5 separate regions of the Homo sapiens genome follow, and all the other regions are linked to region 5. The links are contacts of gene promoters, found by promoter capture Hi-C in blood cells and fetal thymus (Javierre and others, 2016). All regions are on one chromosome and are shown on one strand. Each heading gives the region's core, a stretch centred on a gene start or on the middle of the fragment in contact. The rest is flanking DNA. Distances are from core to core; before and after follow the strand shown.

Evidence for each region. Contacts are between HindIII fragments. The CHiCAGO score rates a contact against its expected background, and 5 or more counts as called.
Region 1: a fragment that was not itself captured here is called in contact with the fragment with the promoter of RAD51AP1 in region 5 in 1 of 17 cell types (neutrophils); the score reaches 5.3 in neutrophils.
Region 2: a contact is called between a fragment that was not itself captured here and the fragment with the promoter of RAD51AP1 in region 5, in 2 of 17 cell types (monocytes and neutrophils). The highest score is 5.2, in monocytes.
Region 3: a contact is called between a fragment that was not itself captured here and the fragment with the promoter of RAD51AP1 in region 5, in 2 of 17 cell types (neutrophils and activated CD4 T cells). The highest score is 6.9, in neutrophils.
Region 4: a contact is called between a fragment that was not itself captured here and the fragment with the promoter of RAD51AP1 in region 5, in 1 of 17 cell types (activated CD4 T cells). The highest score is 5.8, in activated CD4 T cells.

What each region holds. Positions count from the first base shown.
Region 1 is chr12:3,855,525-3,858,224 of GRCh38, forward strand. The region is part of intron 1 of PARP11 (poly(ADP-ribose) polymerase family member 11); the gene reads right to left. Among named protein-coding and RNA genes, the nearest start is that of PARP11-AS1, 13 kb to the right of the region's middle. The HindIII fragment of the contact is 3,730 bases long and covers 1-2,700 here.
Region 2 is chr12:3,900,696-3,903,395 of GRCh38, forward strand. All of the region lies in intron 1 of PARP11-AS1 (PARP11 antisense RNA 1), which reads left to right. Among named protein-coding and RNA genes, the nearest start is that of PARP11, 29 kb to the left of the region's middle. The HindIII fragment of the contact is 9,522 bases long and covers 1-2,700 here.
Region 3 is chr12:3,744,984-3,747,683 of GRCh38, forward strand. The region is part of intron 1 of CRACR2A (calcium release activated channel regulator 2A); the gene reads right to left. Among named protein-coding and RNA genes, the nearest start is that of CRACR2A, 6.8 kb to the right of the region's middle. The HindIII fragment of the contact is 4,064 bases long and covers 1-2,700 here.
Region 4 is chr12:3,816,614-3,819,313 of GRCh38, forward strand. All of the region lies in intron 6 of PARP11 (poly(ADP-ribose) polymerase family member 11), which reads right to left. Among named protein-coding and RNA genes, the nearest start is that of PARP11-AS1, 52 kb to the right of the region's middle. The HindIII fragment of the contact is 1,214 bases long and covers 797-2,010 here.
Region 5 is chr12:4,537,531-4,540,230 of GRCh38, forward strand. It overlaps RAD51AP1 (RAD51 associated protein 1), which reads left to right and starts at 1,360. Exons shown (of 9, transcript NM_006479.5): 1 at 1,360-1,426. The coding sequence starts at 1,410. It overlaps FERRY3 (FERRY endosomal RAB5 effector complex subunit 3), which reads right to left and starts at 939. Exons shown (of 14, transcript NM_020374.4): 1 at 879-939. RefSeq lists enhancers at 574-1,183, 1,184-1,792 and a silencer at 919-968. The HindIII fragment of the contact is 5,379 bases long and covers 1-2,700 here.

The sequences.
Region 1 (2,700 bases), core at 13-2,512, 680 kb before region 5:
ATTGCTACAAAGAGAATAAAATACCTAGGAATCCAACTTACAAGGGATGTGAAGGACCTCTTCAAGGAGAACTACAAAGCACTGCTCAACGAAATAAAAGAGGACACAAACGAATGGAAGAACATTCCATGCTCATGGATAGGAAGAATCAATATCGTGAAAATGGCCATACTGCCCAAGGTAATTTATAGATTCAATGCCATCCCCATCAAGCTACCAATGACATTCTTCACAGAATTGGAAAAAACTACTTTAAAGTTCATATGGAACCAAAAAAGAGCCCACATTGCCAAGACAATCCTAAGCAAAAAGGAACAAAGCTAGAGGCATCATGCTACCTGATTTCAAACTATACTAAAAGGCTACAGTAACCAAAACAGCATGGTACTGGTACCAAAACAGAGATATAGACCAATGGAACGGAACAGAACAGAGGCCTCAGAAATAACACCACACATCTACAACCACCTGATCTTTGACAAACCTGACAAAAACAAGAAATGGGGAAAGGATTCCCTATTTAATAAATGGTGCTGGGAAAACTGGCTAGAAAGCTGAAACTGGATCCCTTCCTTACACCTTATATAAAAATTAATTTTCAAGATGGATTCAAGACTTAAATGTTAGACCTAAAACCATAAAAACTCTAGAAGAAAACCTAGGTAATACCATTCAGGACATAGGCATGGGCAAGGACTTCATGACTAAAACACCAAAAGCAGTGGCAACAAAAGCCAAAATAGACAAATGGGATCTAATTAAAGAGTTTCTGCACAGCACAAGAAACTACCATCAGAGTGAACAGGCAACCTACAGAATGGGAAAAAATTTTTGCAATCTACCCATCTGACAAAGGGTGAATATCCAGAATCTACAAAGAACTCAAACAAATTTACAAGAAAAAAATCAAACAACCCCATCCAAAAGTGGGCAAAGGATATGAATAGACACTTTTCAAAAGGAGACATTTATGCAGCCAATAGACACATGAAAAAATGCTCATCATCACTGGTCATCAGAGAAATCCAAAACAAAACCACAATGAGATACCATCTCACACCAGTTAGAATGGCAATCATTAAAAAGTCAGGAAACAACAGGTGCTGGAGAGGATGTGGAGAAACAGGAACACTTTTACACTATTGGTGGGAGTGTAAACTAGTTCAACCATTGTGGAAGATGGAAGACACTGTGGTGATTCCTCAAGGATCTAGAACTAGAAATACTATTTGACCCAGTGATTTCATTACTGGGTATATACCCAAAGGATTATAAATCATGCTACTATAAAGACACATGCACACATACGTTTACTGTGGCACTATTCACAATAGCAAAGACTTGGAACCAACCCAAATGTCCATCAATGATAGACTGGATTAAGAAAATGTGGCACACATACACCACGGAATACTATGCAGCCATAAAAAAGGATGAGTTCAAGTCCTTTGCAGGGATATGGATGAAGCTGGAAACCATCATTCTGAGCAAACTATTGCAAGGACAGAAAACCAAACACCGCACGTTCTCACTCATAAGTGGGATTGAACAATGAAAACACCTGGACACAGGGCAGGGAACATCACACACCAGGGCCTGTCGGGGGGTGGGGGGCTGGGGGAAGGATAGCATTAGGAGAAATACCTAATGTAAATGACGAGTTAATGGGGGCAGCAAACCAACATGGCACATGTATACATATGAAACAAACCTGTACGTTGTGCACATGTACCCTGGAACTTAAAGTATAATAATAATAATAAAAAAAAGATACAGCATTAAATTTTTAAAGACATGTAGGGATAAAACACGGTGATCATGAAGCAACAGAGAAATTCATTGATGAGTTTGCCAAGGTCATTGCTGATAAACATCTGACACTAGAACAAGTCTATAATGCCAATGAAACATCACTGTTTTGACATTATTATCCTAGAAAGACACCAATTACAGCTGCTGAGACAGCCTTTACAGGAATTAAGGATGCCAAAGACAGAATAACTGTGCTGGGATGTGCTAATACACATATAAGTGTAAACTTGCTTTGACAGGGAAAACCTCACGTCCTCACTGTATTCAAGGAGTAAATTTCTTACCAGTCCATTATTATGCTAAAAAAAAAAAAGGAAAAGAAAAGGCATGTATCACCAGAAACCTCTTTTCTGACTAGTTTCACAAACATTTTGTACTAGCGGCTCATGCTTACTGCAGTGAAGCTAGACTGTAAGATTTTGTTATTCCTTGACAACTGTTCTGCTCATCCTCCAGCTGAAATTCCCATAAAAAATAATGTTTATAACATGTACTTTCCCCGAAATGTGACTTCATTAATTAAGGCATGTGACCAGGATATCCTTAGATCAATAAAGGGTAAATATAAAAATATATTCTTGAATAGCATGCTAGCAACAGTGAACAGAGATAAGGGTGTAGAAAGTTTTCAAAAGTAGTTTAGCATGGAGGATGCCACAAATGCAGTTGCCAACACTCGGAAAACAATGACTGAAGACATAGTCGTGCCTGACACAACCTGGCCTAAGACTATGTTCAGTGTTGATGATGAACAATTGGTGATTTCGAAGGACTCTGTATATCATCCAAGGGAAAACAAAAAAGATATATAACCTCCTGACATATGCAAAAAATGTACCTCCAGAGTCTATCAGTAAGCTGGAAGAAGTGAATATCAAAGATGTTTCT
Region 2 (2,700 bases), core at 68-2,567, 640 kb before region 5:
TGGAGATGCTTCAGCAGAAAGATGGAAAGATCCTGAGTGTTTGATGACATCCTTGAGTTGCAGGATTAAGCAACCCTGAACCTGCCCATGCTGGGCTTCATGTAATGTGAAGTAATAAATATTACTTCAAGACACTTCCTGTTGGATATATGTTACTTGCATGTAAAAACACCTTAATTAATATACCATGTCTTGTTCTATTTCCTTCAATAAAATTTTATTATTTTCTTCACAGGCATCCTACACATTTTTGCAAATATGACATTTTTGAAGATTACATTTCTAATTGTCTATTACTGGTGATTAAGTAGGCTATTGATTTGTTTGTTGGTCTTATATCCAGCTTAGTGATCACTCATTAATTCTAATAGTTTATAAAGTGTCCTACGGACTATTATATCATCTGAAAATAAGAACAGCTTTCTTTCTGCTTTTAAATTCTTATATTATGTATTTTTCTTGCCTTATTACATTAACTTATACTTCAGATACAATATTGAAAAGGAGTAGATATGGTAAGCAGCTGTTTCCTCCTGACTCTGATAGGAATAATTATCAAGTTTCAGCTTTCAGGACCTTTCCATAGCACAACTCTAGGGGGCACCATTCATAGTACTTTGACATTATGAGTGGTTTTGTAATATATTTTTATAAATAGTCTCTGTTAAAGTGTTTGTGTATCAGTTAGGATTAGGCTTGGTTGCAGGCAACATAAAAAGACTGAATAGCAGTAGATTATACAAGATGGAAACTTATTTTTCATGCCCAAGATATCCAGAGGTATTCAGTTCAGGACACAATTAGTGTGCTGCAGTCTCAGAGATCCAGAATCCTATTACCATGTTGTTCCACCATCCTAATCGTTTCCCACCTTCAGGTGGGAAAACATACACTTTCCTCGAAAGATAAAGAAAGCACATTCAATTTATAATTTATCAAATTATGATTTTAAAAAACTCAATAAAGTAGGACTAGAAGGTGTGGCCAAGATTGCTAATTTCATCCCAGTATCTATTCTTCCTGTATCCTTGCAAAAGAAACCTTAATCTTTTATTCTGAATTTTCAAATTTATTTGCATAAATTTTTCCATTTTCTCTTATGGTTTGTTTAATCTCTATTCTAATGTGTTTTGTTTCTGTTCCCTTTTTTGTTCTTAATATTTTATTTATTTGTGTCATTTTCCTTGATTTGCCTCACTAGAAATTTTTCTTTCATTCAAAAACTCAAATTTTAACTATATGAACTTTTTGTAATTTTTTCTTAATTTATTGATTTTTACTTTACCTTTATTATTTCCTTTTTTCTACCCTTTGTGGCACCTTCTGGTTTGTTTGTTTATTTTCTCCCTTCTTGAATTGACTGCAAACTCATTTCCTTTTTATCTTTCTTTTATTTTACAGATAAATTTTAGGTTCTAATCACATCTTTTAATACTACCTTACTGCATCACACATTTTTTGTGATTATTTTATTTTCACTTCGTTTAGAATATTTTCAACTTTTCATTATTATTTCCTGTTGAATCTAAAAGTTAACTAGAAAGATATTTTTAAATTTCCAAACATGCAGTTTTTTTATTTTTTTTTAACTTCTTTAAAAAAAAACTCTCAGCCAGGCACTGTGGCACATGCCTGTAATCCCAGCTACTTGGGAGGCTGAGGCACAAGAATCACTTGAACCCAGGAGGCAGAGATTGCAGTGAACTGTAATCCTGCCTGGGTGACAGAGTGAGACTGTCTCAAAACAAAAACAGAAACAAAAAAACACCTCTCCTCTTTGCTTGCAGATGTCTAATTTAATTGCATATTGATACAAATATGCATAATATAAATTCTTTGAAAATTGCTAAAGTCTTCACAATATGGCCAATTTTGTAAATTTTCTAAGAAGAAAAATTTATAATTTTTATTGGGTACAGAGTTCTATATAAAACAGATAAATTTATAGATATTTTCTTCGAATATTCTTACAGAGTTTTTTTTGTTAGATTTCTCATTTGCTGTTAGAAGAATATTAAAAATCTACTATGTGTATAAAATGATCTGTTTTGGCCTTTTATATAACTTAAAACTATGTTGTTAGGTGCATGCAAGGTCATGATTGCTACATCATCTTGGAGAATGATTCATTTTATTATTGTATAGTATCTATCTTTTTCTCTATTTGTTCTTTTTGCAACAAATTTTATCTTGTCATATATTAATCTTGCTGCTCAACATTCATTTGGAATTTACATGATCTTTTTTTTCTCACCCTTCAATTTCAAACCTTCAGACTGATATTGTTTTGTGTGTCTTTCTTCTCAATTGCATATTGTTGGGTCTTTCTCTTTCATTCATTTTCATAATCTCTGCTTTTAGTGGTTGGCTTTAATCCACTGGCAAGTATTGTGAGTTATTACAGTCATTCCTTGGTATCCACAGGGGATTGGTTCCAGGACTCCCTGTGGGTGCCAGAATCCACAGATGCTCAAGTTCCTTATATAAAATGGCATAGTGTTTGCATGTAATCCATGCACATCCTCCTGTATACTTTAAACCATCTCCAGATTACTCATAATACCTAATACAATGTAAATGCTATGTAAAGATTTACTATACTGTATGTTTTAAATTTGTGTTATTTTTATTGCTGTATTCTTCTTTTTAACTAAAAAAAATGTTTAATCTCACGTTGGTTGAATCCAAAGATGTGGAAGC
Region 3 (2,700 bases), core at 19-2,518, 790 kb before region 5:
ACAAACAAACAAAAAACCCTAAACCTCAACTCTCTGCCCACTGAAGACAGTCCAATAAAAATAACATAAAGAAGAGTTGGATGGCCTTCCCTCTGTGGGATTCTGTAGGGAAGGCTGTGTCCATGCACCCAGATGCCACACCAAAGGCCCTGTGAGTCAAGATCTCCATCCTGTGGATGATCTGTATCCGGGGTGTCTGTTCAATCCAAACTCCCAGAAGACCCGAAAACCAAAAAGCTACCGCAGGCCATGGCACCACTGAAAGATCTAGAGGTTCTTCTGCTGAACAATGTGTTATCCCTGATGGTATCTCCCCAATGGCAATTTCTGACCGTGATTCAGATGACACTACCCACAGAAATGAACTTCCAAGAACTCCTCCTCCCTCAATCCCACCGTGTCCTCCTCTGGGGATGGTGGCGCTGCTGCTGTCTTGCTCACAAAACCTGCCTTGGGAAGAAAGCCCCTAAAATTTCAGCCCTGCTCAGGTTAAGAAATAGTAGCTTTAGGCCAGGTGCAGTGGCTCACACCTGTAATCTCAGCACTTTGGGAGGCCAAGGCAGGCAGATCATTTGAGGTCTGGAGTTTGAGACCATCCTGGCCAAGATGGAGAAACCCCGTCTCTACTAAAAATACAAAAATTAGCCAGGCATGGTGGTGCATGCCTGTAATCCCAGCTACTTGGGAGGCTGAGGCAGGAGAATCGCTTGAACCCAGGAGGTGTAGGTAGGTTGCAGTGAGCCAAGATCATGCCATTGCGCTCCAGCCTGGGCAACAAGAACAAAACTTCGTCTCAAAAAATAAAATAAAATAAAATAAAATAAAATAAAATAAAATAAAATAAAGAAAGAAAAGAGAAGAGAAAAGAAAAAAGAAATAGTATCTTTGACAAACCATCTCCTTCCCTACAGAAAAACAAAACCTGGCTGAAGGCAGGAGGTGTCTCTCTGGCCAGTGTCTCTCATCTCCCTCCCGCTGACCTCCCTGACCCCATTCATGTCTTCAGAAGGGCATGGCCCTGTCGAGGGGGTGAAGGGCTGTTCCTGTGCCTCAGGGCCCTGTGCTGTAAATGCTTCCCAGCCTGGGCTGTACTTCTAGGTGCAGCTCAAATCCTACCTCCTCTCTAAAGCCATGAGAAATATACTTTACTTACTTGCCTATAAACACTAACATCATTGGTTATTTTTCATATCATCTCCTGCTATGAGCTAAATTATGTCCCCCCGACAATTCATATGTTGAAGCCCTAACTCTCAATGTGATGGTATTTGGAGGTGAGGACTTTAGGAGGTGATTAGGTTTAGATGAGGTCATGAGGGTGGGGCCCTCATGATGGGATTAGTGCCCATCATGAAGAGACACCAGAGAGCTCTCTCTCTCTCTCTCTCTCCCCATCTCTCTCTCCTCCCTCTTCCCCACCCTTCCTCCACCCTCCCTCTCCCTTCTTCCTCTCCCATTCTCTCCCTCTCTGTGCCATGTGAGGACACAAAAAGAAAGTGGCTTTCTGCAAGCCAAGGAGAGAACCTTCACCCACCAAACTGGCACCATGATGTTAGACTTCCAGCCTCCAGAACTGTGAGAAAATAAATTTCGGTTGTCTGTGATATTTTGTTCTGTCTGCCAGAACAAAGACATCCCCTCAAAGGGAGTATGCATGCCTACTACAGGGACCACCCCTCTCTTCTTAGACCAGACCCCCTGCAGGACCCTTTGCTGGCACAGCAGGGACTTAGCATGCATGGAAGCTAATTAGGTGAGAGACTCTGCTTCTGCCTCCTGGAGAATTTCAATCCAAGACAAGCACAACAAGTTGTGAAGGACCAACAAGGGGAGGAGTACATCTCAACAAGTTGGTTGAGAAGGACCAACAAGGGGAGGAGTACACCCTTAGCATGGAACTCAACCACAAGCTCTCAAAACAGGTAATGTCACCATGACCCATGGGATCACATGTGCGTGGACCACGTGCTTCCTCACATCCCTTAACTCACCTGACATGGATCAACAGGTAACTCCTGTATTCTCACTTGAATGAAGAGAAGAGAAACTCAGGTTTAGAGGCTAATCCCAAAGACATATGACTGGTTAGAGTAGAACCCAGACTCTGCACTAAGCATTCAGAGGCGGCAGGCTGTGGAACGCTTGAGGACTTGGCCCTAGAGCCAGACTGCCTGGGTTCAAATCCCAGCTCGGCCTCTTATCAGCTGTGTGACCCTGGAAAAGTTACTCAGCCTCTTGAAACAGATGAGGAAGATGGCTTCCTCATCTGTAAAATGGGGAGGATGATCATAACAGTGCCTATTTCATAAAACGGTTACAAAGATGAGTTCATTTATGCCAAACTCTCAGCCATGCCCAGTGTGTTTCTGTGCATCAACCTTGAGGTGCAGTGGAAAGAGAGTCCCTGGAGTTCCGTCTTTGGTCAAGGTGGGGCTGCAGGAAGCTGGCCTCCCTCCCGCATCAGCACCAATCCAACCCTCTATCCCAGTGGGTGAAGGTATGTGGTTATGTGCAGCGGACAATGTGGCAAAGCTGCATCCATTTACCAAGAGAACTCTGATGGACTACAAATCCTGGACCTCAATGCTGAGCAATCTCTAAAGTAAACAAAGTGAAAATAAACCAATCACCCAGGTAATAGAAGATTTTCCTCTTGTCTGCACTGGTAATTGGGTCATGGTAGCCAACCTCCCACGTCCC
Region 4 (2,700 bases), core at 154-2,653, 720 kb before region 5:
TCTCAAAGAAACATTAGTATCATACATAATGCCAGGCTTCATGGTCTGTAATGTCAAACTTGTCAATGTTGTGCTTCATGATCTGCAATGACTAGAATCCACTCTAAGGAAATTCTGTCTCTACTAAAAGATACAAAAATTAGCTGGGTGTGGTGGCACACACCTGTAATCCCAGCTACTTGGGAGGCTGAGGCAGGAGAATTACTTGAATCCAGGAGGCGGAGGTTGTAATGAGCTGAGATTGTGCCACCGCACTGCAGCCTGGGGAACAGAGCAAGACTCCATCTCAAAAAGAAGGCCAGGCGCAGAGGCTCACGCCTGTAATTCCAGCACTTTGGGAGGCTGAGGTGGGCGGATCACGAGGTCAGAAGATCCAGACCATCCTAGCTAACATGGTGAAACCCTGTCTCTACTAAAAATACAAAAAATTAGCCAGGCGTGGTGGCGGGCGCCTGTAGTCCCAGCTACTCAGGAGGCTGAGGCAGGAGAATGGCATGAACCCCGGAGGCGGAACTTGCAGTGAGCTGAGATCGCGCCACTGCACTCCAGCTTGGGTGTCAGAAAGAGATTCTGTCTCAAAAAAAAAAAAATTCATTTATCACTACTTTTCGGGCACAAATTCGATTGAATCTCGGTTTGAAAATTCACTGGAGTTTCTCTTAGATATTATAAATAAACTGTGGGTTAAAGGGCATGGAGTATGGGCATAGGCAGGCATGGAAAACAACGCTTACTTACTAGATTAGATGGTGCATATATACCAGTTGAAGGCAGAGGGCAGGGGCATGGTGGTTAAAGCTTTGTATCCCCACAGCACAGTTTGTTCTAGTGCCCACTACTCCCACTACTAAGGCAGCCACGAAATGCGGACATTCACAGACTATGACCTTGGTGTTCCAGAAAGGCTAAAGGTGATTTCCAGGGCCTCATGAACTTTAGTTACATCTGCAAGGAAAGTCACAGAACTACACTAAGTTCTTCACAACCCTGCCCACCTTTGCCCAGATCCACAATCATTCCCGAACTTACTGAAAGTACTGTCGCACCCACTTCTCAAAGATGTCTCAAAATTATCCACCTCTTAGGGACTAGAGTGCCAAACTGGCTAAAGTGTGTATGCCACATGCTCTGCACTGGAGCAAGAATACTTTCATGCTCTGGATTAAAATAAATTTGCCTAGATTTAGAACACCTGTCATCCTGCTGAACATCAGAGCCACTTATGGAATTTTTTAAGGTAAAAATGTCAGAACCCAGAGGTTCTGATTCAGTAGATCTGTGGCGGGTGACAGGTATCTCTACTTGCTAGTAAATTCCACTGGCGATTCTGACCTGCAACTAGCTTTGAGAATCTCTGATCTAAATTCACATTATTAACAAGATGCTCTTATTTCCTTGCTGCCTTATACTTCCCAGCTCTGGATCAATCCAACCATTTCCACTATCTGCCCTTACATTTGTACTGCTGAAGTACATTACATAACATGGTTTGCCCTATAAATTCACATACTTTAGCTAAGCCCTCAACGCTGACAGAAATCCTGTGGTTCCCAAGACAGCTCGTTCTACCCCATTTTCCACAGTAGCCATTTCAAATCTCCTCTTTCCCCTTTTCTTTCCCTCTTATCAACACCTCCCTACACTTCATTCGCTGTAGGTGACCTCCCTTCTTCCTTCACAAAAGAAACGGAAGGTATCAGAAAAGAACTCCTTAACCTAACTCCTCTTTTCGTCCTCTACCTCTACTTATCTGTAAACATAACTGGACCACCCTTCTCTATCTCCTTTCTGACATATGTTCTCAGAATTTCATCTCACCACACTTCTTCAGGAGCTAGAATCCATCAACTGCCCTTCCACTCTTTCTCTAAGTCTTTTAAATTCTCCTTCTCCATAGGTCCTTTCCAATTACAATGTTCAGTTCTCTCCCATGATTAAATTTTAAAAACATAACATAACAATAATCCCACATTAGCTGTCTTCTCACATCTCTCATCCTCCTCACTGCCAAGCTTCTTGAAAAAGTTGTCAACATTTGCTGTATACACAATATGATGTCTACCAACCTTGCCTTCATCTAAGTTACCAATGGCCTTCTTATTGAAAAATGCAAAGGAACTTTTCAAATTTATCTTACTTGACATCTTTTCAGTATGTAATCGTACAGATGGCACCTACTTGTGTAAACCACATTCTCCCTCCAGCTTCTGTGATTACATCTTCTATTGGTTTTCTCCCGCTTTCTGTGGTTGTCAGTTTCCTCCTTGGGTTTTCTCTTCCTCTGTTCATCCCTTCCAGAATTTGACCCTTGGCCCTCTTCTTTTCTTAATGTACATACGCTCCCTGGTCATCTTCTTCATTCCTATAGTTTCTATTACCCCACATTTTCTAACAACTCCAAAACCTTTGTCTCTAGTCTACACCACTCTTCTCAACTCCTGACCCATATGTCAACTGCTGTATATCAACTAATACTCCCTTTCCATCATCCCTAAAGATGTCCCTACTGATATTCCCTTAGTCAAGTAAAACAAGCCAAAAACTTGGGAGTTATCTTTCTCATCTCCCTTATTCACTCCATCGCATACAATAAGTGAGGCGCCAAGCCCTACCATTCTATAATCTTAATACCTCAAAACTCTCTTCTTTGCTCCAACACAGCAGATACCACTTTGGGTCAGGCAACCCAACGTGTCTCAG
Region 5 (2,700 bases), core at 110-2,609:
CAAAAAATTATTCATACGGTTATTTAAAAAGATATCACCTGAAATATAAAAAAAACTCAAAGGACTTTTGTACATGTCGTGGGGCGGGGCTAAGTTGAATTATCCAGACTATATTTTCAAATCTGTATGTAGGCTATACACAAAAATCTTCGTCTATTTCACCATAATGCAAAGAGATAGGGTATTTGTTTTACTCAGAAAGAATTAAAATTAAACGTAAAGCAATACAAATTTTTATAATGTTAGAAAACTACCAAAACTACATAAAGGTATATTCTATGATGTAGAAATTTCATTCCTAAGTATATATCCAAATACACACACACGCATATGTTCGCTAAAGTACACCCAGAAGAATGCTCATATAAGTTTTATTTATAATACCCCAAACTGGAAACAACCAAAATGCGTATTAGTAGGAGAATAGTAAACTTGTTTATTTTATGAGATAAATACTACACAGCAATAAAAAAGAATCAACCACTGATAAATGCAAAAATATGAATGAATCAGGAATGTTGAAAAAAAAAAGAGAAGGCAGACACAAAAGCTCTGGTTCAACATTTAGACTTGTGTTTCAAGAAACTGATAACTTTAGTTCTTTCTCCTCTCGCTCTTTTTTTAGACTAATGGTCTATCCTGAAGCCTGGGTTCAGTTTTAGCAACCGTGAAATCCAGGAAGGTTTCCCATAAGAAAATGGGATGGAAGGTCTGGACCGAACACACACAGCCAACAGAGCGGAGGCTCTGAGGCTCACATTAATCAGGGAAAAGGAAGACAGACGGTCGAGCTGAGAAACTTCAGCCGGGTGAGGGGACTAATCCCTCTGTAACGGTTGTCAGTCTGAAAGGGCATCCTCACTCGGTTCTGGGCTCACCTCGTCTAGTTCCGAAGTCCTGGGCAGTCCGCTCACTCGAGCTGTCAGCGCGTCCTGCACTGGGAAACCAGCTGACTTGCCGACATACTTTTTCCACACCGCGGATCCGCGAACGTAGATTCGCCACATCCTTTTCTATTTCCTGGCATCTTGTAGAAAATTTCTCAGTCCAAGTGCCCCTATGTCCCAACCTGTTTCAATTTAACAATTTGAAAGGTGCAATAAGGTGTATTTCTATTGTTATTCTGTATTTCAGAGACAGGGCAAATCCGCCGTTGTGACGAAAGTGCAGGGACAAAGCACAAACTCGGCTCTGGTGGACCGGATACGGAAAAGCGGTGCCTTGGGGAGGGCGGGAGCAAATTCGCTTTCCCCACAGCGCGTGCGCCGCCGCAAGCATGGCTGGTGATGATTGGACGACTGGTAACAGGGGGCGGAGGGCTCCGAAGTCTGGTTTTGGGCGGGAATTGAAACCGCCGCTGAAGCCAACAAGAATTTGAGAACTGTAAATACCAAGCCTTGAAAGGGACCATGGTGCGGCCTGTGAGGTGGGTAGTTCCTGACATTCGTCGGGGGTGGGAGGAAAACTAAGGGAAAAGACATGAGACTAAGGGGAAAGGATCGAGTAAGACCGGAGGGCAGCGATGGTGGGGTTAGGATGGACGGTTATCAAGAACCCAGTCTCCAGTGAGAGCCACCCGTTGCTCAGAAGTATCCTAGCATCGTAGCTTTTTCCTTCTCTTTGCCTCCCTTCACAACCGTCGCCGTTTCTTTTACCAAGACCTTGTTAGCGTTTGAACAGCGCTTTACATTTCACCGAGCGCCCAATTATGTGTTATTTTATTTGTTTATCACTGTAGTTATTTGATATAGAAAGAGTAAGCATTCCTGTTGTATTGATTTAACATTTCTACGTATAGAGGGTAAGTTATCTGAGTCATACAGCCCAGTAAGTGGCAGGGCAATACTCAAACCTAAGTCATCTCACTCAAGATCCTCTGTGCTTTCCATCGTGGTATTAGAAACGATTCTTCTATTTACACAGTTGAGTGCCATGGAAGCCTATAGTTAGCCATTCATTTAATAAAGTTATTGAATATATTCACTTCTTTAGTGTACGAGGTGCTGGAGGTTACATTCCAGTGGGAGGTGAGGTTAGGGGGCCGAAAATAAGCCTCGAAATATGAGAGTGCGAAAGAGGAAAGCACTACTTTAAATATAGTAGTTAATATGTGACTCTGAGGCGATAATGCATGCACTGAGTCATGAATCAGGGTAGAGGGAATAGGAGCCAAGGCCCCATACTTGACCATATTTTAGGGACAGTCTAATGCTATAGGATTAACAAGCAGTGGGGAGAATCGTAGGGGGATTAGGCCAGAGAAATAGGCAGGTGCCAGAACAGATAGGGTCTTGTAAGTCTTAGAAAGGAGTTTAGGTTTTATTTTAAGTCAATGGGAAGTCAGTGGAGGGTTTTAAGTAGGGGAGAGGAATCTAAGTTTGCTTTTATAAAGGTCACTGGCTGTTGGTGGAGAATAAATGATGGATAGGGTGACCAGAACGGGAGCAGGAAAATCAGGTATTATATCATTGGAGAGCGGTTTGGGATAGGGTATTATTAGTGGGCATGGAATGGAACAGATGAATTTGGGATGTATTTCGGAGGCACTGTGGACAGAACTTGCTGATGAAGTAGATGTACAGGTAAGGGAAAGAAAGAATCAGAGATGACTCCACAATAGTTTTGGTCTGAGCTACAGGATGGATGATCTTTGTATTAAGATAGGGAAGACTAGGAAAAGGAAGGTTAGGAGGTGTGAGG